7 separate regions of the Homo sapiens genome follow, and all the other regions are linked to region 5. Evidence: promoter capture Hi-C in 16 types of primary human blood cells and fetal thymus (Javierre and others, 2016). All regions are on one chromosome and are shown on one strand. The core of a region is centred on a gene start or on the middle of the fragment in contact, and the rest is flanking DNA. Distances in the headings are between cores, read along the strand shown.

Region 1 (3,739 bases), core at 91-2,590, 560 kb before region 5:
CAAATATGTCTAGCACATCACTTGTCACTGCAAGCACCCTTTAACTGCAGATCTATCTCCCTCTACCAAATCTAAGCTTCTCGGAAGCAAAGATTGTGTCTCATGCCTTGTGTGTCCCTGGTATCCAGTAGGGAGCAGATGCTTAATACATGTGTGTTTAATGAAAGAATACCCATGAGCTTTTTCTGTTTACTTATAATTAGGCAAAAACAGAATAGCCCATGTCTTTCCAATATGCCTATCCAATTCTGAACCTTGTCCAAATCAGGCCATTTTTCATATCTCACAGGCCTTCCTGATTGTCCCTTTCTCTTTCTGGCCTTCTGACACGTACACACAAAGGCAAAGCCAGTGGTCATCCTGTTTTCTGCGTGGGAAAATTGGTAATAATGACTAGAGTTGAAAGTGTTACTGAACAAGTATAATATAATCATTCTTCTGTGACAAAAAAATCAATCCACCCCAAATTTCTTTTACAGTCCAACAGAGAATTATTTCCTCTATCAATTGGCTACTTAGATCAAAAGATTTTAATATCTTTTCAAATGATACTTTTTCCTAATTACGAGATTGTCTCAGCTCTCCTGCATTCTGTGACTTAAAAATGTAAGTATCCAGGTAGCGGTAGTGGTTTTGAATGGAAATTACAGCTCAGCAACAAGAAACTCTCTTGAGTAAAAGAAAATCTTACTCTTTTTTTTTTCTAAAAAGGTTTCATTTCTGTCACACTGCTTCTCACTTGAAATTTAGTTTCTATTCAGAATTATGGTGCATACATTGTTGTTCTTTAGGGAATATTTTTAAATAGTATTTATTTTCCTTTGGTTTAGGGCTATTTGGCTTCTCTTATTCCTTCTATTTGTTTCTCATAGTGTGAATGACAAGTTAAATAAGAGAAGAGGAGCCATAAAATGTGTCCTCAATACCACACTAGCTATGGAATAAACACCAGTTTTTCAAGTTCAATAATTTTTAAACTTTATATATTCCCCAAACTCAGTCTTTCTGTGTGGCCTCTTTCCCTAATTGGTTCCTTCAATGGTTATTCCCCAGATTAACTACCAAATACGGTAGGGGTAAAAATATGGGAAAGGCAAATATTGTTTTATTTTGGTTTATATTCAAGTGTAGTTACATTTGCAAGGCAATTATCGAGCAGTTAGGACATGAATGGGAGGAAGGAGGGCAGTTTGAGGACAGTGTTGATCCTGTGGCCTTTCAGCCCACCCTTCCCAAGCCAGTGAAGGCAGCAAGAGAAGGAGGAGTCTTGGCCTCGGTGATGTCCCCTGGTGGGTCTCATCTGCAGCAGAGTGGCCATGGCCTTTGCGGTGTCTCTCAATATCTCAATTATGCAGGAACTACTAATAAATGACCAAAGTTCATACAAGAAGTACTTTGTTTATAATTTAGAGTAGATTTAAGCCTATGAAATAATGCCACCCAGACTCACTTGTATTCTACTATACCTTCTTGAATGAGAGAAAAACATGCAGCCTTATGCCTAGAGTCTGCATATTTACCACACATAACCCACAGCCTAGCTTAGGGATGTCACGCTCAAGAGCTGTGTCTTGTGTGCCAATGATGATACAAGCTGAGAATCATCTGAATTTCTGAAACATAGTCTTAGTTTTGGCTACCGCCGTGGCTCCCTGGCTTGTCAATAACCCCTTGCCCATCCACACTGCAGTTTAATCATGCCTCTGACACAGAAATTATACACATTATGCATAATTATATGATATCTGTTTGTGGGGTAGATAATGGAGTTAGTCTACAGTGGATGCAGTCATCTTAAAAATAGGTGTTTTGACATTCTTAAAACTAGATGAGGCACCCTTCAAAACAAAGCCTTAAAAACACCTATTTCTCTTGCTGTCTCATCTAGTTCTGAGAATGCCACTGACGTGTGAAAGAAAAATAAGCATCATGTACTATCACTATAGAAAACTATGACTTGGGTTAAAGATAATAAACTCCTCTCAAGGTTAAAACAAGAGTAATTTCATTTTGATTTCCCAAGTTTTCCCCCTCTAAGATGTCCAAATTGAATAGGATTACAGATTTTTCCGGGTAATAACACTCAACAGATGTGGCTATTTTAACAATGCTTTGTTTCATCAATGTAATTATAATCTTTCATTTCCAATTATTGATGCACTTCACTTAGACAACTCTCCTTCGAAATGTCACCTAAATTACCCCATGTCGATACTTTACTATAGATAAAGATAGGCAGGAGACATAGTGGTTCTATGCCCATGATGTAGTAGCATACATGAAGTTCTTATATAAAATGTTGATTTTATATCACAATTTGAAAATTTCTCTAAATGAAAGGCCATCCTTGGCTCTGTAAGTCAAGAAATTCTCTTTTTAAAACCACTCCCAAATCTATTCCAAACAGCCTGAGAAACCACTCTACATAAAAATCAGTATGGTTTGATTTTTAACAATGTTAAGTCAAAGTGAAATTTAAAAATTGTATCAGCTGCTTATAAGGACCAAGTAGCAAGTAGGATACGGTAAGTATAAGGCTCTTTATCACTGAATGAATTCTAATGCCTCCCACTTCAAGTTTCCTATCACATACACATAAGCTTGTCACTAAGCTATTCATGCATGTAGCTTATCTTCAAACTATTAAAAATGTACCTAGTAAACTAGTAAAAAGTAGATTTCGCATCGTATGCTTTTTGTATTCTGCACAATGTCAATCATAATGTCTTTCTCATAGATTGCAACAGAGAAGTATTTGTTGGATCAAGAATGAAAAAAAAGCAAACAGTTGTGAGGCACATCTATGACTTTACATGAAAAGAGGAAATAATAGCTTGGTTATAGATACAACTTAACAGTTGGGCAAAATAAACAGCTCTCCCACAATTAACTGAGAAAAGTGTTCTTAAGTACTTAATCTGAGCTTCAGAAAGTCCCTTGCGATGCTATCTAGGTACTGGGTTTTTCATACAATTGGGAAATAAAATGGAATGCCCTCTTGTGGTGCCAGATACATGAGGCCTGACTTCCACAGTGAATCTTGGGTCTCCTTGTTTTCTATATGTTAGATTTTTCCCCCTTTCCCCAGAATGTTGAAAAAGAAGCTTACTTCTCTTGGTTTTTAGTGATGATCAGAAAAAGATAAATGTGCAAACTGTTTGCCAAAAAAAAAAATCAGACATTATCAAATGAATTCACATTAATTTTCCTTTATACCATAAGCAGAACTTTGAGACTCTTTTGTCACAAATGATTATTATTTGTGAAAGATTTAAAGACATCGTTTGCTTCAGTAGACTTTAAAAAGCTTGTGAGAAAGGGGAAGTTCTGTAATATAAATGCCCTTCCCTTCTGCGGGACAACCCAGATCAGATTCCATCTCCAGGGAAAGGCAGGCCACTCCAGCTTGGAGGACTTTCCCTCCTCTGACTTTTAATTGCACTTGCTATTTGTATCATTTGTTTGACTCTTCTCTCTCCAGCTGTGCATAAAGGTGCAGATAGTATCTTTAGTTCTTTAGATCTTCCTCTCTGTCTTCAGAAAGTGGCTACCTAGCAAGTTTTGATTGATATACAGTGGGTAGGCAAGAAAAAATGCCACATCTTTAAAATTTCAAATTTTATTGCTTTTATTTCTTAGTTTATGGCAAAAACATAGATTTTCCTGCTCCTCTAAAAATATTTAAATATTTTACAATGTAAATAATTTATTAAATATTAATACATTTATTTAATATTTA
Region 2 (3,637 bases), core at 909-3,408, 520 kb before region 5:
AACATAGTACTGGAAGTTCTAGCCAGAGAAATTAGACAAGAAAAAAAAAATACAACTGAGAACTCGAATAGTTAAAGCAATCTTGTGCAAAAAGAACAAAGCTAGAGCCATCACAAGAAGATGAGAAAATAAATAACCCAATCAAAAAGCTGGCAAAGGACCTAATAGACACTTCTCAAAAGAAGACATACAGATGGCCAACAGATATATGAAAAAAAATTCATCATCATTAGTCATCAGGGAAATGCAAATTAAAACTATGGTGAGATATCGCCTCACCCCTACTATAAAAAAAAGACAATCGATAACAAGTATTGATGAGGGTGTGGAGAAAAACCTTTGTGCACTGTTAGTGGGAATATAAATTAATACACCCATTATGTTAAACAGTATGGAGGTTCTTCAAAAAAGTAAAAATAAAATTACCATATGAACCAGCAATTCCACTTCTGGGTAATAGCCAAAGGAACTGAAATTAGTATGCTATAGAGACATCTGCCTACCCATGTTCACTGCAGCATTATTCGCAGTAACTAAGATATGAATGCAACCTAGTTGTCCATCATCAGATGAATAAAGAAAAGATGGTATGTATACACAACATACTGCTATTTAGCTTTAAGAAGCAGATAAATCCTGTCATTTGCAATGACATGGATGAACTTTGAGGACATTATGTTAAGTGAAATAAGCAAGGCACAGAAAGACAAATACTTCATGATCTCACTTATATGCTGAATCTAAAAAAGTTGAACTCATAGAAGTAGCAAGTAGAATGATGGTTACCAAAGGCTAGGGGAGGGTGTTTTCTTAGTCCATTTGGAGTTGTTATAAAGGAATACCTGACATTGGGTAACTTATATAAGAAAGAGGTTTATTTGGCTTATGGTTCTGCAGGCTAAACAAGAAACATAGCTCCAGCATCTGCTTCTGGTGAGGGTTTCAGGCTGTTTCCACTCATGGCAGAGGAGAAGCGGAGCTGGCATGTGCCAAGATCACATAGTAAGAGAGGAAGCACGAGAGTGGGAAGGAGGTGCCAGCCTCTTTTTAATAAATAGCTTTTTCAGGAATTAACAGTGAGAACTCACTCACACCCTGAGGGAGAGCATCAGCCTTTTCACGAAGAATCAATCAACATGACCCCAACATCCACCTACAGACCCGACCTCCAACACTGGGGATCAAATTTCAACATGAGATTTGGAGAGGACAAACATCCAAACTGTAGCAGGGGTGGATGGACTAATGGGAGATGTTGATCAAAGGGTATATAGTTTCAGTTAGACAGCAGGAATAAGCTGTAGTGATCTACTTCACAGAATGGTAACTATAATAAATAATAATGCATTGTATAGTTCAACATTGCTAGAAGAGTGCATTTTAAATGTTTTCACCACAAAAAAAATAGGTAGGTAGGTGAGGTGATAAATTTGTTAATTAGCCTGATTTAATCATTCCACATTGTAAACATATATCAGAACATCACATTTACATCACATAAGTATATACAATTATTATTTGCTAATTAAGAATAAAATTAAACAAAAATAAAATTCAGTAGAAAAATGAGCTCCCACACATTCTTCAAGACACAAATACCACCCTATCTGTAAAATTGTGTACTGATAGCCACACCTGACCACATGCATCCTTCTCCCACTCTGTTTTGTATTCTGCTTCTGTTATAACTCCAATACCAGTGAGGATTTTAATCATGTATTTGCCTGTCTTTCTCTTACTAGGATGTGAGCATCTCAAGAGAAGACACTTTCATTTTAGCATAGAAGATACTAAATCCACGTTGGATGAAATGTTGTTAAAGAACAACAATTTATAAAAGGGGAGCTAAACATCCAGTCTGTATTTGAATTGATTTATTTGAGTAGTTCTCAAATGTAAATGGATATCCTCTGATGTCCTATAAATCCTATAACAACTTTGGTCATTAATGTATTAGGATTTCAAACCATCACAATCTACTAATCTAAATGCCTTCAATTCTGACTCTGAGATATGTGGAGGACATGGTACCAAGACGTTGGACATAAATTTTTGGGGATCTAAATTTTTTGTCTTGTTTTTAAGGCAATAAAGCCATGATTGAGTCACCGAGCTTCAGTGATAACAATGAGAATCCATTATCTTGCAAACTCTTTCCCTTACGATAGTTCTTTAAGATATTCAAAAAATTACACCAGCAAGCACTGAGTTAAATTTAAAATACTATGTTCACTGGATCATATTAAAAAATCAAATTGCTTTACTTACCTTTCCATAACTTTAGTCATAAAATTAAGAGGATGTGAATCTTATTTTTAACATCAAAATGAGTAACAAGAACAATAACTAAATCTCATACCTCAAGGATAATCTCCTTTGGTTAGATGTAGTTGAAATGTTAAACTTTACAGATCACATTTAATACCATACCTGTCCTGTGTATGCAAACTCCAGAGCCTGCTTTAAGCCAAGGCTGGTCACACCGTGCAAATTAACCTCATCAGCTCCACTTTCCACCATACAAAGACTGAACATTGCCTGAGGTGAGGAAAGGGAGAAAGACAGTTATGAGACTTTGACAGCAAGGGAGCAAGACAAAATTCTAGAGAGACTAGGGGAAAAAAAAGTTTTACAAATTAATAATTGATTTTGATTTTTGAAATGCTTCTAGAAAGTGTCATTCACACAAACCACTGCAAATCATTTTGATGTCTGAACAGTTGCAATAACAACACACACAGGATGGCATTCCTCACCATATACAGTACTTCTATATGTAATACACAGTCTCATTTTGAGGTGATAGTATTTAGGCCCACCGAACGCTTTCTCTTGGTCCTGGATTCTCATTGCTACCAAGTTATATGCAGCAATGCCAAACATCCTGCCCAATAGGACATGAAAAGCCTTCATCTTCTGACTTCTCTGCTTTTTTCTGCCTCAGTCCAATGAAACAGCTAGTTCCTCTCATCTGCCATTGTATTAGTTCATTTTCATATGCTATAAAGAACTGCCTGAGACTAGGTGACTTATAAAGGAAAGAGGTTTAATTGACTCACAGTTCAGAATGACTGGGGAGGCCTCAGGAAACTTACAATAATGGTGGAAGGCGAAGGCGAAGGTGAAGGCGAAGCAAGGCACCTTTTTCACAAGGCAGCAGAAAGGAGAAGTGCCGAGGGAAGGGGAAGAGCCCTTTATAAAACCATCAGATCTTGTGAGAACTCACTCACTATCATGAGAACAGCATGGGGGAAATCGCCCCCATGATCCAATTACCCTCCATCTGGTCTCTCCCTTGACATGTGGGGATTATAGGGACTATGGGGATTACAATTTAAGATGAGATTCGGGTGGGGATACAAAGCCATGTATCACACACTCCGTTTCAGTTGTTCTCAAAGTGTAGCCCTTGGACCAGCGACATCAGGATCACCTGGGAACGTGTCTGAGTACAGACTCTCAGGGCCCCAATGCAGATTTACTGAAACTGATACTCCAAGCAGGGCCCAGCAATCTGTGCTGTAATAGGCCCTCCAGGTGACTCTCATGCCCACTTGAATTTGAGAACCACTCAGCTATTCAGTGCAAGTGAATTTGCCCCCAACCAATTCTCCAAATGGCCAATTTACTGCAAATC
Region 3 (3,449 bases), core at 145-2,644, 960 kb after region 5:
TCATAAATTATCCCAAGACACCTTTCTGTTTTCATTTAGGTCGCTTAGAAACTAGTACTCTCAGAACATGGAGTGGAAGAGGTGATCATGGTAGCAACAGACTGAGGAGTGAATTTGAACTTGAGGTAAGTGTAGGTAACTTTATCTACCGTGGTGCAGGAAGTGTCCATTTGAACGTGTAGAGTTAGCTGCCTAGTCAGTTGAGTTTAAGCACAAATCTTTGAGACCTAGGAGTATGGACCTTTTTATTAAAAATTGTCCTTAAATATTTTCTGAATTAGTAACTTTTATATTGCCAATTCATCTTAGTAAGAAAATCTACTAGGGCAAGAGGACAGTCTTATAAAATCCTGTGTAGATCTCTAATGTCTCATTAGAATACATGGGAGAGTCATAAAAAGAAGAAATAAAGGTACTCAATATCTATAAAAGTAGTTTTGAGTCCTGAAAGGACAAAGGCCATGGCATTAAGATGACTGATAATATCCAGTTGTAGCCAGGATGTGGAATATGTATACTCTCACATTTTATTGGTGGGAATACTAATTGGTAGAACCTTCTTGAAGGGAAATTTGGCTGCACTACTCTTTGAGTGAGCTATTCTATATTTAGCTATTTTTCCTACAAAATTATACCCATAATGAGAAAAAACTGCACACAGTGATCTCTCTTTGTAAATGACATGAAAAGATGTCCATATATAGTTTTTAAGAAGAATGAATTTGCAAAATTATGTAGATAGCTATGTAAAGATATATCTGTATCAATTTTATATGGTTGGCATAATAAATTACCACAAGTTAAGTGGCTTAAGCAATGCAAATTTATTATCTCACAGTTCTGTAGGTCAGAAGTCAGACATGGGTCTCTCTATGCTAAAATCAAGGTGTCATCAGGGTTGCCTTGCTTACTGGAGGTTCTTGGGGAGATTGTTTCCTTGCTTGTTCAATTATTTTTTTTGGCAGATTTCAGTTGTATAACTGAGGTATATGTTTTCTTGCTGGCTATATATTGAAGGCAGTTTCCAGTTCCTAGGGGCCTCCATGTTATCTGGCTCATGGCTCTATGCCTCCATTGTCAAAGCCAGCAATGTCAGATCCAATTCTTCTCATATCACATTTATCCGACCCACTCATCTGCTTTCCTCTTTCACATTTAAGGATATCAGATTATATTGTGTCCAACTGAATAATCCAGGATAACCAACCCATCTCAAAATCTTTAACCTCAACCACATGTGCAAAGCTCCCTTGTCATGTAAAGTAACATAGTCACAGGTTTTGGGCAATAGGATGTGTACATATTTGGGGGCCCATTATTCCACCTACCCCAGTATCTGTAAGTACGTTTAATATAAATTATATTATGTAAATATATAGGCATATACAAATATGTATACATACAGGAATGAGGAGAGAGAGAGAGAGAACATCAACAACAAAAAACAAATGTATATGTGTCTAAATTTTTAGAAATAAACATACCAAACACTTTAACAGTGTTTTTCATAGAAAGTGGGTTTCAGTTTTTATATATACTTTTAAGAATGGTTTGTATTTGTACGACAAGCACACATTAATATTGCACTTTAAAAGGTAAAAAAAAAATTAATTGATCAATTAGGCTCAAGCACTTGATCAAATTCAGTTGCTATATTTCCTAGTATAAACACCTAGGGAAAGAAACAATCTCTAAGTAAAATATGTGTTCCATGAATTATTCATCAAAATAAATGGCAGACTTCACTGTAGGTGTTATGCTCTAAATTGAAGAAATTAACCTTTAAAGTATTGATTGGCTGAATTGCTGCATGTCTAAATAGAGTGGCAATTCTCAGTACATAATAATCATAACAGTACTACTACTAACTCCTGCAATCATAGTAAAAATATAAAAATAGTTTCTTTTATATTTTATCACTCTCAAAACATTTTCAATTACATTACTCTTATAAATTCTGAAAACAATCTTTAATATTAAGTAGGCAGCATAGAAAATTATCACATTTTGGAAGGAAAAATATTCAGAGGACCTAGATAAGACTTGCTCAAGGTCCAATAGGCCAAAATTGTGCAGAACCAAAATATGTACTTAGATTATCTGTTTTAGGATATATGTACAATATAAAAATATAAGACTTCTTCCCTCATGAAGTTAACAGTCTATGAAGGGGGATAAGACATGCATGTAGATGGCTTCACTCAAAGCAAAAAGTCATGAGTGTTATTTAAAAGGGTTCCAATGAAGTGTTGTAAGAGTTCAGAGAAAAGTTATTTGGAGGGGGCGGTTACTCACACAAGTACTATTTATACTGGGTATTAAATAATAACTAATTATGGAATATTTTCTATAAACAAGAATGGAGTAGTAGTGTGAAAGTATCAAAGCAGGATTGAACAAGAGTGGCTCTTTTGGAGGTAATGGCAAGGAGAAGCCAGAGAGAACCAAGAGTTATTGTGCAATTAGAATGAGCAGCAGAAGACAAATGAGAGAAAAGAATCAAAGGTGACTCTATATTGTTCATTCTAGATATATAGGCTAATGGAGTTGCTGGCAAGGCATGGGAAACATTTTCTCACCTTCTCTGACTTCTCAAACCTACTGTACAATTGTTACTGCCCCCAGCACTCCTCAGGAATTGCTTTTCACAAAGTCTCCAGTGATTTCCTTGCACTAAATATATTTTCAGTCTATACCATACTTGATATCTTGGCTATATTCAGCTCTATACTCAGCTCCATCCATCTTGAACATTTTCTCCCTCTAGTTTCCTTGACCTCACATTCTCCAATTTGACATTAGGCATCCATGTAAAGCGCTTACTGCACTCAATCCTCTGTGCACACCCACATGTTCTAAACATATTATATTGGGTCCTAATATTATTTCTCTTACTTTTCTTAAACTCCACAATTCCCCTGTAGACTTCTCTTTCTTGGTCTAGATCTTAAATAGACTCTCTTCTGTCTAGGCGCTCTCTCATATGACACATACTCACTGTTGGAAGTCTCTTTTCATTTTCATGCCTTCAATAACCACTTTGTGCTCTTCTGGTCCATATCTCAGTGGAAAGTATCCTTATACATCTTATAGATCAAGACATCATTATAGATCTTATAGATCAAGCCATAATTTTTGGCCTCTTTTTTCCCCTCAGAGAAAATACAAATCTTTCAAAATATATTTAACTTTTCTCTATTTCTTTCCCTATTTAACTTTTCTCTATTTCTAATATCACCACTCCAATGAAATGTTTTATTATCTTTCATTTAAGATCTCTCATTCTGATTGATCTTTCACCTGCCTTTGGCCTTTCAATACGACCTCCACACTGCAGTCAGAATGATCTTTCTAAAAATCAAATTGATCATGTGATTCCTGTCCTTATAACCTTCCAGTACTTTCTCTGTCTCTCAGGATAAAGTCCAAATTCTATAACACAACATATA
Region 4 (3,735 bases), core at 392-2,891, 540 kb before region 5:
TTCAAAATAGTTTCGGAATTCAATCACTGCTCATGACTTCGATAATCACTGCTTTAGTCCAGTCCATTCCTCTTCCTAAACTTAACTGTAATCACCTCCTAGCTAGTTGCACTGCTTTCTCCTTTGTCCACTCACACTATCTGTTTTAATAATATCAACCAGACTGGTTCTTTAAAACCACAAATGAAATCATGTCACTGTTTTTATTCAGAACTTTCTGAAGACTTTCCATCTCCATGAAAATAAAATCCAAAAAGTCTCCACTATAACCTAAAAAGTTATTGAATATGCTGAGCACCTTGGTGTTTACAACTAGTTGTTTGCTCTGCCTGGGCCACTCCCTCATATACTTCAGATAACGTCTTACCTGAGATACCTTCCCTGACCATCCTATGTAGAACAGTAACCCACCCCTGAACAGCCATCATTCCCTAGCTCCTAACTTTGTTTTATTCTTCACCATAGTGCTTACCACCTCACATTATATATCTTTTTGCCTATTTGCTAATTTTTCTCTGCTCAGTATAAGTTTCAGGAGAGCAGGGACTTAGTCTATTTTGTATCCCCAGCACTTAGAACAATGTTCAGCACACATAGCTGTTGCTCAATATTCATGAAGTTACTTAATTAAAATGCTAATGAATTAATTGATCTCTACACATGTTTTTTATTCAGAATCAATTTTAACTAATTTTATAAGAAAGAAAAAAGGACTCTATATTTCTAAGTGGCAAAGTAAAGAAGTGAAAAAGTTAAGCACATGTGGCAAAAATACCAACACTCATCTTATTCTGAAAAATCTTTATATCTCCTTTTCCATCTAGTCAGAAAGAGAAACCCGTCTTTCGCCAACTCCTCAAGGAAGGAGGCTTTGACTGACATTCACGAAATTAGTGCAGCTCCCATCAGAGGAGCAAGGATGTTGTATAGTCTTGCAGAAGAGGCATGGCCTAAGGAGGAGAATGGGGAATAGATGGATTAGAAAGGTTGGTTTAGCCTTTAAATCCTGTCAGTTGCGCTCATTTCACACAACTGGTATTTATGATAACCTCCAAGGCTCACTAATAGCAAACACAAAGACAGTGATCACAGAGAGACAAGATGAATATTCCATAGCATGTGTTACATGTCCAGCAGGCTGACTTCCAGAAGCCTGCACATGAAAAACCCATACGGCGATTGTTTTTGTCTTTTTTTATTTTTTGTTTTGTAGTTTTTTCCTTCCACTCATTATAACATAAGTTTTTCTAAAATATGCTTTAGCACAGAAAATCTCTAAGTGCTCTTAAAGGGTTGGAGAAAGAAACCCTACCAGGACAGCTGTTCTCACTTATGGAAACAGAACCAGTGTTTGCAAACCTCACTGTACCAGAGGCTTTTGATTCAGCTTTGTTGCTCTTTGGTGACTGACTGTTCGAATATATTTTTCCAGGGAATTTGTGTTTGGCCAGCAATGAAATCAAAGGTCAAGTCTCCTCATGATTTACAGTGTGGTGAATTTATCTGTCACCTGCCTCGAAGGACTGGCCAAAAGAACAACCTCTGCAGAAAAAAAGGGATCTCAAACACACAGGTTTATGGAGAACAACTAAGACAGCTGCATTTAACTTCTGCCAAGCATTATATTTAGGTATTTCAGAAACATACCCATCAACATGTAGTCTGACACTCAAACCAGGACAGATAGGAAGAAGGGTGACTCAAGGACCACCTGCAGGAAGGAAGAGATGTTCCCCAAGATCTGAAAGCACACAGGGTGGGAATAGGAGCTAATGTGAGTGGCCTGACACATCCAGTCACTCATCAGTCTGGAGGAGCATATCACAGCTAGAGGCATAAACAGTGGACAAGACAAAATGTCTTAATAACAAGAGATCAAGAAAATGCTAGATACATAAAGCCAAGTGGTCCAGAATCCAGGGGCGGGATGGGGCGGGCTGGGGGAAGTGGGGGGAAAGGAAACCCTAAAAGAAGCCAAACTAGGTTGGGCATTGCCTCTACCCCCAGTGACGCTCACCTGCTTGGGTGGAGCTCACCTGTAGAGCTGGGGCTTCTCCAGATTTGCAAACAGGTTTTGATGCAACCAGGAGCAAACTTAGGTGGGGGCATGAATGTTTCTTGTTCACAGAACCACCTGTATAGAGGATTCTTTCCCCGCCTGACCTCCAGGTGGTGGAACACAAGGGGCTGTTCTCGAATGAGGGATGTTGGACAGTGCTAGCAGAGAGGTCACCTCTAGTCTCACCTCACCAAGTAATGAGATGATCACATCTCATTACTTGGGTCTGGCCCAGGAACATCTCCTGCAATTTGTAGCAGGCAAGGTCATATGAATAAGGAGAGGGCCACGACTGATTCCCATTCCAAATGCTGAAACTCTACACTCATTTTGGTGGGGATAAGAACCGACCAGTGGCTGTATTTAGGGTGACACAGAATGGTGTGACAAAGTAATAGTGTAAAACCCACAAGTGCAGGAGAAGGGGATGGGTACCTGGTAGGAGAAATTATGTCAGAATTCAGTCATGAGGTGGCCCAATCACCCTCCTGGTAGGAGGCACTCTTGAATACTGTGTGCCAACATGTCCTCTGGTCACCAATCCAAGCAGGGTTGGTAGCAGACAGGAGAATTTGCATGATCTCCAATGAAGACCCTCTAAACTGCAATAAGACTGGGACTCCTGGTCTCCAGGCAGAATATGGGGCCAGAATCCGGTGAAAGAGGAGGAGAATGGGACCTGAGGTGAGATTCTGTATAGAGCATGATGACGTGGGCCACCTCAGTCAGTGCCCACACCTCACATGGGGGCTCTGGGAGGGTGGAGCTGGGACTGAGCGGTGGGAGTAGGGACACCCCACAGTCCCCAGGGCATCCCTGCCCCTCCTTCTTCAGCTCATCCTCCTGGATCATCAGATGTCCACTCTCTCAATTCTGTCTTCTTTTTCTCTTTATTTTCCCTCTCCCTTATACCTAGCCTCTTGGATTGGTGGCTGGTAGGGACTGTCTTTAACAGCCATGGTAAGTCTCAGTGTGACCTTTTTTTTTCTCCTGCCTGTGATCAAGTGAGTTGGCATCTTCAGAAAATTTTGTATCTTCAGATCTTCAAAGCTATCTTCTTCATTTCTTGCATAAGGAGATTTTTTAATTACCTGCTTCTTGGTCTATGTGTACAGTGGACTGAAGGATTTGAGCATGTTAAAATCAGACAACTAAGGTCTTTAGTAAACACACATACCATGTGTGCACATGAACAACACGCTTTTGCAAGCAAAACAAGCGCTTGTACAACTGCAAATTAGAGTGGTCTAATACCATTTATGAGAATAAATGATTACATTTCCTCCCTTCTTTATAGTTTGTTTCTTTGGTATTTTTTTTTTCCTGTATAGTATTACAGAATGGCAAATTATCAGAATCTTGAATTTATAATCATCAAATGAACTGGATACAACAGCATAAATAGCTGTTAAATGATCATATATTCAACACACATAAAATGTTTTGCATAAAGTTATTTATGACAGAATTCTCACAGATGGAACATGAAACACAAGATCTATCTAGCTATGAGAAATTTCTACCAATCTAGTTTTAGTTTCAAAACCACTGCACTAAGGACTTTTTATCCACAAGGTGGCAGCCATTTAAAGGAAAAGAATTTTCTAAATTGACTCATGCACTGCACATCTATATCTGACATCTGAAGTTTATTTTTAAGAAAGAAAAACATAGTT
Region 5 (3,990 bases), core at 890-3,389:
TTCTATTTTAATCAAATAGTATTCAAATATGCTTGGTAGTCTGTTCAAATTTTAAGAAGACAAAGGAAACCAACTTTGTGCGTGTTTTTAACAGCATTTCATACAATATGATTGGTGTAGCACCACACTGGATTGAGTTACCTAATTTGTAAGTACAAGTAAGCCTTAAAAAGAAATACAGCCTTGATTTTCAAAAATCTATAATCCTGTAAGATACTGTCCCCCTTCACAATTACCACCTAATAAAAGGCAGCTGAATACCCTTCCCTGAGTCATGCAATAAATTAATGAATTGTAAAAAGAAACAATTAATTCATGTATAGTACACATAACTCAAAATGATAAAATATTTTAAGTGACAACATTTGAGTTCATTTAAATTATATGACCATGTTTGCATGAACCCAGTAAAAATATTAAGCCTGATTATCAAATTAACAATTGAAAACGATATCTTACAATCTATAATTTAGTATGCAATTACATGTTTACGGGTTTTGTTTGTTTGTTTTGCCCCTTCCAAAAATCCAAGAAAAAAAAAAACACTAAAGAATTACCTACCACCTCGGACATGTAGCTCATCTCTCATTTCTTTACTAATTTGGGCTGGAGTAATATATTCCTTTCCATCGAGTGTATGAACTACTTCTAGCTGTTTCTGAGCAATCAATTTATTAACAATCTCAATGCAGTTCCGCTCGGACAACCTGAGGGAAAGAAAAAAAGTTGTTTCAAAAGTCCACTTGAGACATTGGCGCTCAATAAAATTAATACAATGTATGAAAACAGGCTTTTAAAAAGTTTGTTTAGTCACTAACTTCTACATCACAATATCTGTATTTTTCACTAACTGATTCAATAAGTTAAAAAAAAACCTTTCAGAGTAAGTAGGTTTACATATGCTTAAATCATTTATTTAATTGGTACACATCATCCCATCACAAATTTCAAGTCTGTTGTCTCTTACAGGCCTGCTTCCAATCTTCAAATCTGAAGGGAAAATTGAAGACATTTATTTAGGTAGGAAAAAAGAAAAAACAAAACAAAACAAAACAAAAAATGCCCTAATTTCCAGTTTAATCAGAATTTTCTTTTAAATTAAGTGCATAATTGCCTCACTTACACACATGGTCTGCAAGCAGGCAGGGGATGTGGCCTAGTGAAACCATAACTTTTACCCACGTTAGTTACCCATGCAGTTACGAGTTTGCTATCAGTGGTAGAAAATACAGCATAAGGGGATTGCTGTCTTCCGGCTCAAAAGGAATAAAACATCGCAGGTAGGAAGTAGTCAAAGAATAGAAAGGCTTCTATTAGCGTTATTTTTAAAAAGCAGAGTTAGGCTCCTCTGGACACATCCTCCAAAGGTTAGTGGGCTTGTAGAAAATGTCAGTGCCCTGAATAACAGATGGGGTCAGGGGTCTAGCCCTAGGTCTGTTACGAGAGATAAAAGGGCAAGAAGTTTTAAGGATCAACATACTATTTGCCAAGTACTGTACTGGGGGCGGGGGTTAGCCTCTCCTTTCGAGCTCATTCTAGATCAGGAAGTGTATAATAGCCAAGATGTCACAGTGATTTGGTGGTTGGTGGGTGAGGGAGGGTCAAAGAAATGCTCAATAAAGGCAGCTCGAAATCACCGGCCCCGTCCATGGTGGGGCGGGGCGCGCCAGCATTTCGCTGCAGCTGGGCTGGGGGGCTCCAGGGCGTCCTAGGCTGAGGACTTTCCCGCCGAGCCTTGGACTTGGAACTGCGATCCAGGCTCGGGACAGAGGGAGGAGGAGAGAATGGTGACAAGCAGCGAGAAGACCCGGGATGCAGGGCCGCGGGTCTAAAGTCCCAGATACAGGCGTGTCCGCCCACGGCCTAATTTGGGCTCCACAAAGGAGAGGGAGGGTCGGGCACCTCTGCGTGGCCTCGGCGAACTGCGCCCGCTGGAAGTCGGCCGCCAACCGCCTAATCTCTTCCCAGGCGTCCGCCATCACGGCCTGACTCGCAGTAGACGCGGAGGAACTGCAGACACGTCAGCCGACAGGCGGTGGGAGAAGAGAGGCGGAACGGGCCGCGCAGAGGGACAAGAGGCTCCGCCCCCGACGCAGACACACCAAACGCTTGCGCCCGAGGCGCGGGGGGCGGGCGGAAGTGCCGTGGTTGTACCGCGGCGCTGGGGGTTCCTCCCGGCGAGACTGGCGGGGCTGCGGCGGCTAGGAGAGTGGTGCGTAGGTGTTTCTGGGGGGGTCGTGGGCAGGATGCAGGGCTCAGTAAAGTTTAGTGTCAGAACTTTGTTTGCGCTACCCCTAATATTTCCGTAGAGTAATAGTTGTATTAACTACTTTTCTTTTTTCTTCTGTCCTCCATTTGTTTTGGGGGAGGGTGCGGAGGAATAAGCCTGTGTCTAAGATTGGCGCCTCTCTTCTCTAGCTGTTAACTCTGAGCATTCCCTTTTGTATAGGGTATCGTGTTAATTTTTACATGCACCCAGAGCAGTCTGCCTTTTGGAAGATACATGGGAGACCCTACCGAAAGTAATTACTTTTTTTTTACAGAGTGAATAAATTTGCGTGTCATAAAGGCTGTATAATTGCTTTCGTGTCTAGAGTTCTAGAGTCTTTCGTATTTCTCTTATTGCAATGATTAACTTCATCAAATAATGAGGAATATAAACATAAGGTGCATGGCTATCAAGGAAACAGGGAAAGCAAAGAGAACATGTATCCTGCTTCCCTGTTGAGTAGATATTTACTCAGGTGTACCTTTCTTTTTTATATCTTTTTTATATCTTATGAATTGAAAATAAATCATGGGACCCCCAAATCACTAAGCTAAAGGGAAAAGTCATACTGGGAACTGCTTAGGGAATCCTGCCTCCCATTCTATTCAAAGTCACCCCTCTGCTCACTGAGATAAATGCATGTCTGATTGCCTCATTTGGAGAGGCTCATAAGAGAATGCAACTGTCTGTTATCTACCTATGACTTGGAACTTCCTCCCCACTTGGAGTTGCCCCGCTTTTCCAGATCAGACCAATGTTTATCTTACATATATTGATTGCTGCCCCATGTCTCCCTAAAATGTGTAAAACCAAGCTGTGCCCCAGCCACCTTGGGCGCATGTTGTCAGGATCTGTGCCATGTCATGGATGCAAGTTCTTAACTTTGGCTAAATAAACTTTCTGAGTTGATTGTGACCTGTCTCAGATATTTGGAGTTCATGTATCTCACTCTTTACTATTTAAAAAATATTATTCCAGTTAGAAAGAATGAATAATATCAAGTATTTGATAGCACAGCAGGGTGACTAGTTGTCAGAGGCGTTTGAACTAGAGCAACTCCATCTTGAATAGGGGCTGGGTAAAATAAGGCTGAAACCTACTGGGCTGCATTCCCAGGAGGTTAGTCACAGAGTGAGATAGAAGGTCCACAGGCAGGAAAAACAAGTCATAAAGACCTTGCCGATAAAACAGGTTGCAGTAGTGAAGCCAACCAAAACCCACCAGAAACCAAGATGATGAATACAGTGACCTCTGGTCGTCTTCACTGCTCATTATATGCTAATTATAATTCATTATCATGTTAAAAGACACCCCCACCAGTGCCATGACAGTGTACAGATGCCATGGCAACGTCTGGAAGTTACCTTATATGGGTCTAAAATGGGGAGGAACTCTCAGCCCTGGGAATTGCCTACACCTTTCCTTGGAAAACTTGTGAATAATCCACCCCTTGTTTAGCTGTAATCAAGAAATAACTATAGGTATCCTTAGGCCAGCAGCTCAAGCCGTTGCTCTGCCTATGGAATAGCCATTTTTTTTTTCCTTTGCTTTCTTTATAAACTTGCTTCACTTTATGGATTTGCTTTCAATTCTTTCTTGTATGAAATCCAAAAACCTTCTCTTGGGGTCTGGATTGGGACACCTTTCCGGAAGTACAGTCAATAATAATTCAATTGTACATTTTAAAAAACAAAGTACAAGTGGATTGTTTGTAACACAAA
Region 6 (4,009 bases), core at 577-3,076, 930 kb after region 5:
AGTAATTTCTCTTCCTCTTTTATCCTCTTTGCAAGTATACTCTATGGCTTTGGAGGAATGTTCTTTCTTCTCCCTTACAATGTTGTTATATTTCAGCTTCTTTATTGCATCAATTATGACTTCCAGATATCTAATTCTATCCCTATACTGTGATCCACAGCCCAATTAATCATTATACAGTGTCTTCTGGACTGTGGCACTGAATAAATACTAGCCTGGGAACCACGCCAGTGATTGTCGTACTTCTGAGGAGTGTTGGGAATTTACAATGGCAGTGAATCCTTGATAGTAACCAGAGAAGTGTCTATAAAATAAGCCAACTGAGTATCACTTATAAGTAAAATCTATTACTCTGTATTTCTGTCATCCTAATTGCTTAGCAAACTCTAGGATGCTCTTTGAAGTCCATTCTTGAAATATTAGCAAACTAAATGCAAAAACTCATGTCATGTTGCTCATGTCACCCCTCCATGCCACTTATTACAGGACCTTCAATATAATTGATAGTCAATTTTTTTTGTTGTTAGTAAAGTGATGCATTCAAATAGGATAACAGTTAAGAATATAGGGTATAAAAATCAGATAGGCCTAGAGAATCGAGTTCTTATTCTGTTATTTGATAGATGAGTATCTTTAGGTAAGTTATTTTACTTAAGTTTCCACATCTGTAAAATGTAGGATAAGGCCTGTTTTAAAAAGCACAAATGAGAGAATGCATCATGCAGAGTAAAACACCTAAAAAGTGATTATAAATAACACTTAATAACAAGAAGACAGTATAATGATGGATAAATTTGGATACCTTGAGCCCCAGAAAACTTGTTATGTGTTCATAGGAAATTTAGAGCTTCTTTTGAACATCTCAAACATTCTTTCAAACTAAAGCTTTAAGAGAAAAAAAGGCAAGCTCATTTCTAGACGTAACACAATTTTCACTATCTTACCCAGGGTGACATACTTTTAACAAAATTTTACAAGGTACAGAAAAAAAAGCAAGAAAAACAATTCACTGACAAGAAACAAAGCAATCAATAGAAACAGACTCACAAATGAGATACGTTGGAATCATCAGAGAGAGAATATAAAATTACTGTAATGAATATCTTAAAGGATCTAATGGACAAAGTAGCTAACACACAAGATCTGGCAAATTTCAGCAGAGATATGGGAACTATAAGAACAAATAAAACAGAAATGCCAGGAATGAAAGACTACTTAAAAAGATGAATTAATGCCTTTAATAGGCTCATTAACAGAGCTGAGGAGATAATCAGGAAACTTCAAGGCAAGTCAAAAGAAATTACCTTATCCAAATTACCATAATGAGAAAAAAGACTGGGGAAAACAATAGAACAATGCATTTAACAGTTGCGAGATAAATATCAAAGTTCTAGTACACATGTAATTGGAAACCCAGAAGTAGGAGGTTTATTTGAAAAAATAATCAGGCTGGACACGGTGGCTGACGCCTGTAATCCTAGCACTTTGGGAGGCCCAGGCAGGTGGATAACGAGCTCAGGAGATCGAGACCATACTGGACAACATGGTGAAACCTTGTCTCTACTAAAAGTACAAAAATTAGCTACGCGTGGTGGAGCACATCTGTAGTCCCAGCTACTTGGGAGGGTGAGGCAGGAGAATTGCTTGAACCCAGGAGGCAGAGGTTGCAGTGACAGTGAGCTGAGATCAGGCCACTGCACTCCAGCCTGGGCGACAGGGTGGGACTCCATCTCATAAAACAATAACAATAATCACTAAGAATTTAGCAAAATTAATAAAAGACACAAAGCAACAGATTAAAAATTCAGAGAACACCAAGAAGGATAAATAACAAAAAATAACAGGAGTAACAAGTAACCATACCATGTTTAGACTGCTAAAAAACAAAATAGAAAAAAGAAAAAAAGAAAAAAATTAAATGCAGCCAGAAAACAACAACAGCAACAACAAAACATATCCATCCAAGAAAATGAGGATATAAAAAGATTTTTTTAAATTACGGCAGACTACTCATCAGAAACCATGAAAGACTGAAGAAAAAGAAGAAAAAAAGAAATGGAATACATTTTCAAAATTCCAAAAGAAAACAATCCCCTAAAACCTGCCCATTGAGAATTCCATAGGTGATGAAACATCTTTCAAAATAAAGGCTACAAACAAAATTTGAAAATATTCATTGCAAGGAGACCAGTAAAACAAGATAAAAGAAATTTTTAAGAGAGAAAGAATATGATATTAGACATACACTTGGATCTACATTAAAATATGGATGGGGAACAGTAGAAATGGAATAAATGTAAAAAACATTCTTACTTTTAATCACTGTGAAAAACAACTGATTATTGAAAAGAGTGATCAGCAAACTATGACCCATCGGCCAAATCTTGCCTTTTACAGGCCAATTCATCTATATATTTGTCTATCTATTGCTTATAACCATTTTCACACTATAAGGATAGAGCTGAGTGGTTGCAAAGAGAGAGAGTGAGGGACTCACAAAATCAAAAATATATATTAGGCAGTCCTTTACAGAAAATGCTTGCCAACCTCTGGCCTACAGCAATGATAGTAAAATACCATTTCTTATGTGACAGAATTACGACAATAGCAAACTATGGGAGGGAAACATAGGGAATATCAGTGGTGAAGACCTTACATTACACATTAAGTATATATTATTTGCAAGTAGACTGTCTCCTTGCAATGAATACTTTCAAATTTTTTTTGTAGCCAAAGGTTGGGCATCTATAGCAATATGAAAGCTTTATGGAATATCACCACTCTACAGTTATAAATATAACCTTTAAACTTAATGCAAATAGTTATTATAAAAGGAAATTTTATGACATCATATTAGATGTTATTAGGTACATTTAAACTTTATGTGTCTAATTCATCTCATTGTGACTTCTACTTTTATGTATAAATTTTTAAAGGCAGGAGATGCAGAAGTAAGAATTGTAACCTTACTAAAACAAATATGTCATACTTTCAGGAAATATTCTAATGTTGAAATCCATCCAGTGTTTTTAAAGCAACAATGATGAAAACAAAGGAACTGGGAAATGTGACTTGCTCATTTTTATGTCCCTAGAATCTAGCACAAGCTTGGAACGTCATGGAAAATCAATAAATATTTAGTGCTAAACTGAAACAATGGGAAGATAATTTTAAAGTCATAGAGTACATTATGTTTTGCTAAATGTAGCAGTTCTCTATTTTGCCATAACAAACTATCACAAATTTAGTTGCTTAAAACAACGTAAATTTATTACCTTACAGTTTTGCATGTCAGGAGTGTTGACATGGGTCTTAATATGCTAAGATCAAGGCCAGGTATTGGACTGGATGACATTCCTTTCTGGAGGCTCTAGGAAAGAATCCCTTTCCTTGCCATTCAAGCTTGTAGAGGCTACCACATTCTTTGGCTCATGAACTTCTTGTTCCATCTTCAAAGATAGCAACAGGGGGTCGAGTCTCTCGTGCATCCCTCTGACTCTCTTTTCCCTCTTCTTCTATTTATAAGGACTTATGTGACTAGATTAGCTGTACCCAAATAATGAAGGATAATGCCATCTCAAGTTCAGATGATTAGCAATCTTTTGCACCTGCAACCCTAATTCCCCTTTTGCCAAATAAAATAATATATTCACAGATTGTGGGAATTACGATGTCCACATCAGAAAATGGGGGCTATTTTCTGACCAGTCTACTAAAGTTTTAGTAAACTGTATAAAAAAAAGAAGGCATTCATCTGTTACTTTTAGAGTTGTAATACAGCAATACAAGAGGATAGAATACATGATACGTAATATTTTACTTAAAAGACTTGAAAAGGATACAAATCTACCATATGCCATTGTAATATATCTGATACATTATATATAATAATTGGATTTTAAACATAACATTAATAGTTCATTTTAATTTTATCATTCTTTTCAATGAAGGGTTGAGCCATTAGGATTTATGCCAACCACACTTAATTGTAAAAGCAGAAAATCAACCA
Region 7 (3,899 bases), core at 824-3,323, 970 kb after region 5:
ATATAATAACAAGAACTCTCTCCATGAGGAAAAAATTACTGAAAGATGTACATATATACAGCTAAGAGATTAATTCACATAAAAGACTAAAGAATGCTCAGTGTTAGACATTATAAATGGTGAAATCAAATAAATTGAACTAAATATTCTAAATAGGTTTTGAAACAAAATACAAAGGAAATTCATAAGATAGAATATATAACATGTGAAAATGACCATAATAATCTACATCTCAAATTTCTGATTATAAAAACCTCGTTTCACCCAACTGAGAGGTGAATGAGAGCTAAAGGAAGCAAAGTAAAATAATACTAATATTCAGAATTCTATCAGGTGGTATCAAAGCATTATTTGGTTTGCGAAATTGATCATTGGAATTTATTTTTAACTTTTATGTATCTGTAAAATTTTAAAATAAGATATATATTATATGAAGCGTTAGCAATAAAGGTGAGAACATTGTATTCCATAAGGATCCAGATAAGAAAAAGACAGTAAAGAAGCGTTTTTTAAGTTAAAATTGAAAGGGCAAATGAACAAAGTTTTCAGATATAACAACTTAAAAGTTTTGAATTTGAATGGGTTAAACTGTTCTATTAAAGATCAGTCCAATTATATGTGGTTTCCAAGGGACGTACCTAAGGGAATATGACCTAGAGAGGTAAAAAAAAGGAAGAAAAGAAAAATAGAAAAAGAGACTGGCATAGATACATCATCTAAAGGCAAACAAAAGAAAGATCATAACATTAAAATCAGCTGTATCAGATTTTGAGGCAAAGAAGTCATCATAAATTATAAAAGACTTCAGTTTTATGTTTAAAAATGATATATCCACAATGAAGATATTAGAATCATAAACCTTTATATGAAAAATAACATAGCTACAAAATACTTAAAGTAAAAGCTGTGCTATACAATTTTACAAAATGAAGTTAGAAAAGAAAAAAATTTAGCTTTGAAGAAACATCTCCCAGGTTTTGAATACTCATGTAAGAAAAAAGTAAAAAAGTAAAGGCTATATACTATTCTAATTTATAGATTTTTAAAATAAAGAGATCAAGTATATTCCAAATAAACAGAATATACACTTTATTTTAAAAGCCAATGGATCTTTTGTAAAAACTGGTCATCTAATAGGCCAGAAAAATGTTAAATCAGTTACAAAAAGAAAAGCTGAAGTTGTACACGCCATGTTATTAGATCACAATACAAAATAGCCATTAATAGCTAAAGTTAAAAAGTAATTATTTGGAAATAAACAATGCATGACTCATTAACACAGATCAAAGGGGATTACAGATTCTTTACAAAGCAATACAAATGACAATACTTCATTAAATATTTGGTAGAAGCTTTATGCGCATAAACTATCTGACTCAAAATCAGAGAGGTGGAATGTATTAGCAATAGGTAGATAGTGAATAAGACAATGACAGTGCATCTATAATGTTTATAACAAATACCATGTGTGGATATACTTTTTATCATGGAGATTAAACAGATTTTTAAAAAATGAAAATTTGCATTAATATAGTAAATATAGCACCCACTCGACCACCAAATCTCGTGCAGAGAGTTTTTAAATGCTTTCAATACAAAAAGAAGAAATAAAAGACATACGTACAAATAAAACCCCAACAGAAATAAATTAATCATTCAAACAACCTAGTCAGTTTAAAATGTAGGTTTCATTATTATTCAGGTATTGTGACGCCAAAAATCAGGAGACACTGGCCATTGTATAGACAGTTTGTTCCCAAGAGGAAGGGGTATGCCATGCCACACAAGGCCATGCTGGGAAGCACCAGATTCAGTCAGGAGGCAGAAGGATTTGAGGGGTGATGGAGAGCGTGAGCAAGAGCCTTTATTTTGGTTTCTGCAGCAAGGTAAACAGGTTTAGAATTGGCTTGTTTAAATAATCCCAGCAGACTCTGGGGTATAGGAACTGTCCCTAGTTGTCTAGTATTTGACTCTGGAGTGATTAGGGCAGCGCATAGTGGCCCTGAGTGTGACAGCCTCCTAGAGGAGGTTGTGGGGTGTGAAAGCTCTGCATTGTTGGTTTGCATATGAATCTCACAGTCCTGGGCCAGTCATTTACTATGTAGGATATGGCTACATAGGAGCCAGGAGATGGCTAGTCCTGGAAGGGGTAGGCTTTCCAGGATCAGCAAAACCCTGAGATGTCAAAGCATCAGAATTGCAGGAAATGGAAAGGCATGACTTCATACACTGTTGAACCCAGCAGGTGGTTGAAAGCAGGGTTCCCCCTGCGTCAGGGACCCATCTGGCTGTGTTTCTTTATCTCCCTTCCATAATCATGACAGATGCTGTGACACACTGATACATTCCTAGTTAGGAATAAAGAACTTATTACCAGAGCTGCTGTAAGTGCTGTCAGTAGACAAGTCTCAGCTGAAGAGTTTCCTAGTCCGCATCACTCTTCCTTCCTAGGTGGGCCTCCATCCAATGATTAATCTGTGTAGGACAGGGTTTCTCAATTTAACATTTTGAACAGGATAATTTCTTGTGGTGAGGGCCAATCATGTGCATTGTAGGATGTTTAGCAAATTCCCTGCCCCACCCCCCAGACTAGATACTATTAGCACCCACCCCAGTTATGACAAACAAAATGTCTTCAAACACTGCCAAATGTCTCCTAGGGGGCAAAATCACCTATGGCTCATAATTAATGATGTAATTGATTACATATATTACATTAATAATTACATATATTCAATGACATGTAAATACTTTCAGATTTATATTCCAGCCCAGATCTCTTACCTAAGCTTCAGCCTCTGTATAGCTCACTCCCTATTGCCCATGACATTTTATCAAAAGACTTTACATATTTTATGCTTAAGAATATGAATTTTAGAAGTGGCTGCTTAAGTAAACATCTCATTTACTAGCTTTGTAACATTGAGGTTCTACTAAGCTTTTGTTTCCCTCAGTTTTCTTTCCTCATCTATAAAATGGACACAATAATAGGATCTGCCTCATAGGTTTGTTGTGAGAATCAAATTAATGCATGTAAATACTTCAGAACAATTCCTGGCATATTGCTAGTTTTCAATAATGCTAGCTATTACTATTAGTCAAGTGGTGTCTTGCAGGTACGAAATGCAGTGTGTTCAAGTCCATCTAAATTCCTGATCTGCCAACCCTGGTCATTTTTCTGTATTTAGTATTTCACTAAATGACACCACCAATCACTTACTCAAGCCAGGTGCTTAATCAATGTTACTATTGATTTTTCCATCTCCTTCAGCAACTGCCTCAATCACAAAATCATATTGAATCTGTATTCTTAGAACTGGTTGAATTTGTCAATTGTCTTCATCTCAATTGTCACTATTTTCATTAAAACGTGCTTCTTATTACAAGAACTATTGAAGAAATTGAGAACATGGACTCTGGAGTCACAGAGACTTCAGAATTAGGTTTAAAGTCCAATTCTACCAGCATCATGATATTAAGTAAATGACATTTTCTCTCTTTATCCATTACTCTATTTGTTTAAAACAAACAAACAAAAACAAAACAAAACAAAAGTGATAATGCTTGCATTAAAGAAATGCAAAGAATATTATAAGGAGCACTCTTTGTGTTACCCTAACTTGAAATAAAACAAATAACCATTAATAAGAGACTGAATTAAATAAATTGTGACATTTTTATATAATAGAATACTGCATAGTAATGAAAAGCAAATGGCCACTGCACAATCTTAGAGAATGTTGAGCAAAAAAAAAAATCAAAAACACACAAATCAGTAGGTAGTATTTATAAAAAATTTGAAATAGGAAAGACCCAACTGTATTGTTTAGCAATGTGTACTTAGTGATAAAACTGAAACAATATGTAGTTGTGATTATTATAAAAGTTAAAGACAGGCA

What was found. The method cuts DNA at HindIII sites, captures the fragments that hold promoters and counts their contacts. A CHiCAGO score of 5 or more calls a contact.
Region 1: a contact is called between a fragment that was not itself captured here and the fragment with the promoter of UFL1-AS1 in region 5, in 1 of 17 cell types (activated CD4 T cells). The highest score is 5.1, in activated CD4 T cells.
Region 2: a contact is called between a fragment that was not itself captured here and the fragment with the promoter of UFL1-AS1 in region 5, in 2 of 17 cell types (total B cells and naive B cells). The highest score is 6.0, in total B cells.
Region 3: a fragment that was not itself captured here is called in contact with the fragment with the promoter of UFL1-AS1 in region 5 in 1 of 17 cell types (naive CD8 T cells); the score reaches 5.2 in naive CD8 T cells.
Region 4: a fragment that was not itself captured here is called in contact with the fragment with the promoter of UFL1-AS1 in region 5 in 12 of 17 cell types (total B cells, activated CD4 T cells, M0 macrophages and 9 more); the score reaches 12.7 in total B cells.
Region 6: a contact is called between a fragment that was not itself captured here and the fragment with the promoter of UFL1-AS1 in region 5, in 7 of 17 cell types (total B cells, non-activated CD4 T cells, total CD4 T cells and 4 more). The highest score is 9.1, in total B cells.
Region 7: a contact is called between a fragment that was not itself captured here and the fragment with the promoter of UFL1-AS1 in region 5, in 1 of 17 cell types (activated CD4 T cells). The highest score is 5.9, in activated CD4 T cells.

Annotation. Positions count from the first base shown.
Region 1 is chr6:97,076,829-97,080,567 of GRCh38, reverse strand. The region is part of intron 5 of KLHL32 (kelch like family member 32); the gene reads right to left. Among named protein-coding and RNA genes, the nearest start is that of KLHL32, 150 kb to the right of the region's middle. The HindIII fragment of the contact is 2,524 bases long and covers 79-2,602 here.
Region 2 is chr6:97,040,393-97,044,029 of GRCh38, reverse strand. KLHL32 (kelch like family member 32) reads right to left here. Exons shown (of 11, transcript NM_052904.4): 4 at 2,431-2,538. Among named protein-coding and RNA genes, the nearest start is that of KLHL32, 120 kb to the right of the region's middle. The HindIII fragment of the contact is 7,360 bases long and covers 1-3,637 here.
Region 3 is chr6:95,563,904-95,567,352 of GRCh38, reverse strand. It overlaps MANEA-DT (MANEA divergent transcript), which reads left to right. Exons shown (of 3, transcript NR_104136.1): 2 at 40-125. Among named protein-coding and RNA genes, the nearest start is that of MANEA-DT, 12 kb to the left of the region's middle. The HindIII fragment of the contact is 4,478 bases long and covers 1-3,449 here.
Region 4 is chr6:97,059,548-97,063,282 of GRCh38, reverse strand. All of the region lies in intron 4 of KLHL32 (kelch like family member 32), which reads right to left. Among named protein-coding and RNA genes, the nearest start is that of KLHL32, 140 kb to the right of the region's middle. The HindIII fragment of the contact is 4,952 bases long and covers 1-3,735 here.
Region 5 is chr6:96,519,863-96,523,852 of GRCh38, reverse strand. It overlaps UFL1-AS1 (UFL1 antisense RNA 1), which reads left to right and starts at 2,139. Exons shown (of 4, transcript XR_007059687.1): 1 at 2,139-3,990. UFL1 (UFM1 specific ligase 1) reads right to left here and starts at 2,047. Exons shown (of 19, transcript NM_015323.5): 1 at 1,903-2,047; 2 at 562-707. The coding sequence starts at 1,979. RefSeq lists enhancers at 715-1,586, 2,253-2,442, 1,587-2,458, 2,459-3,330, 3,331-3,990. The HindIII fragment of the contact is 5,811 bases long and covers 1-3,990 here.
Region 6 is chr6:95,589,440-95,593,448 of GRCh38, reverse strand. The region is part of intron 2 of MANEA (mannosidase endo-alpha); the gene reads right to left. Among named protein-coding and RNA genes, the nearest start is that of MANEA, 14 kb to the right of the region's middle. The HindIII fragment of the contact is 1,877 bases long and covers 888-2,764 here.
Region 7 is chr6:95,546,774-95,550,672 of GRCh38, reverse strand. No RefSeq gene overlaps it. Among named protein-coding and RNA genes, the nearest start is that of MANEA-DT, 29 kb to the left of the region's middle. RefSeq lists an enhancer at 1,037-1,653. The HindIII fragment of the contact is 1,437 bases long and covers 1,355-2,791 here.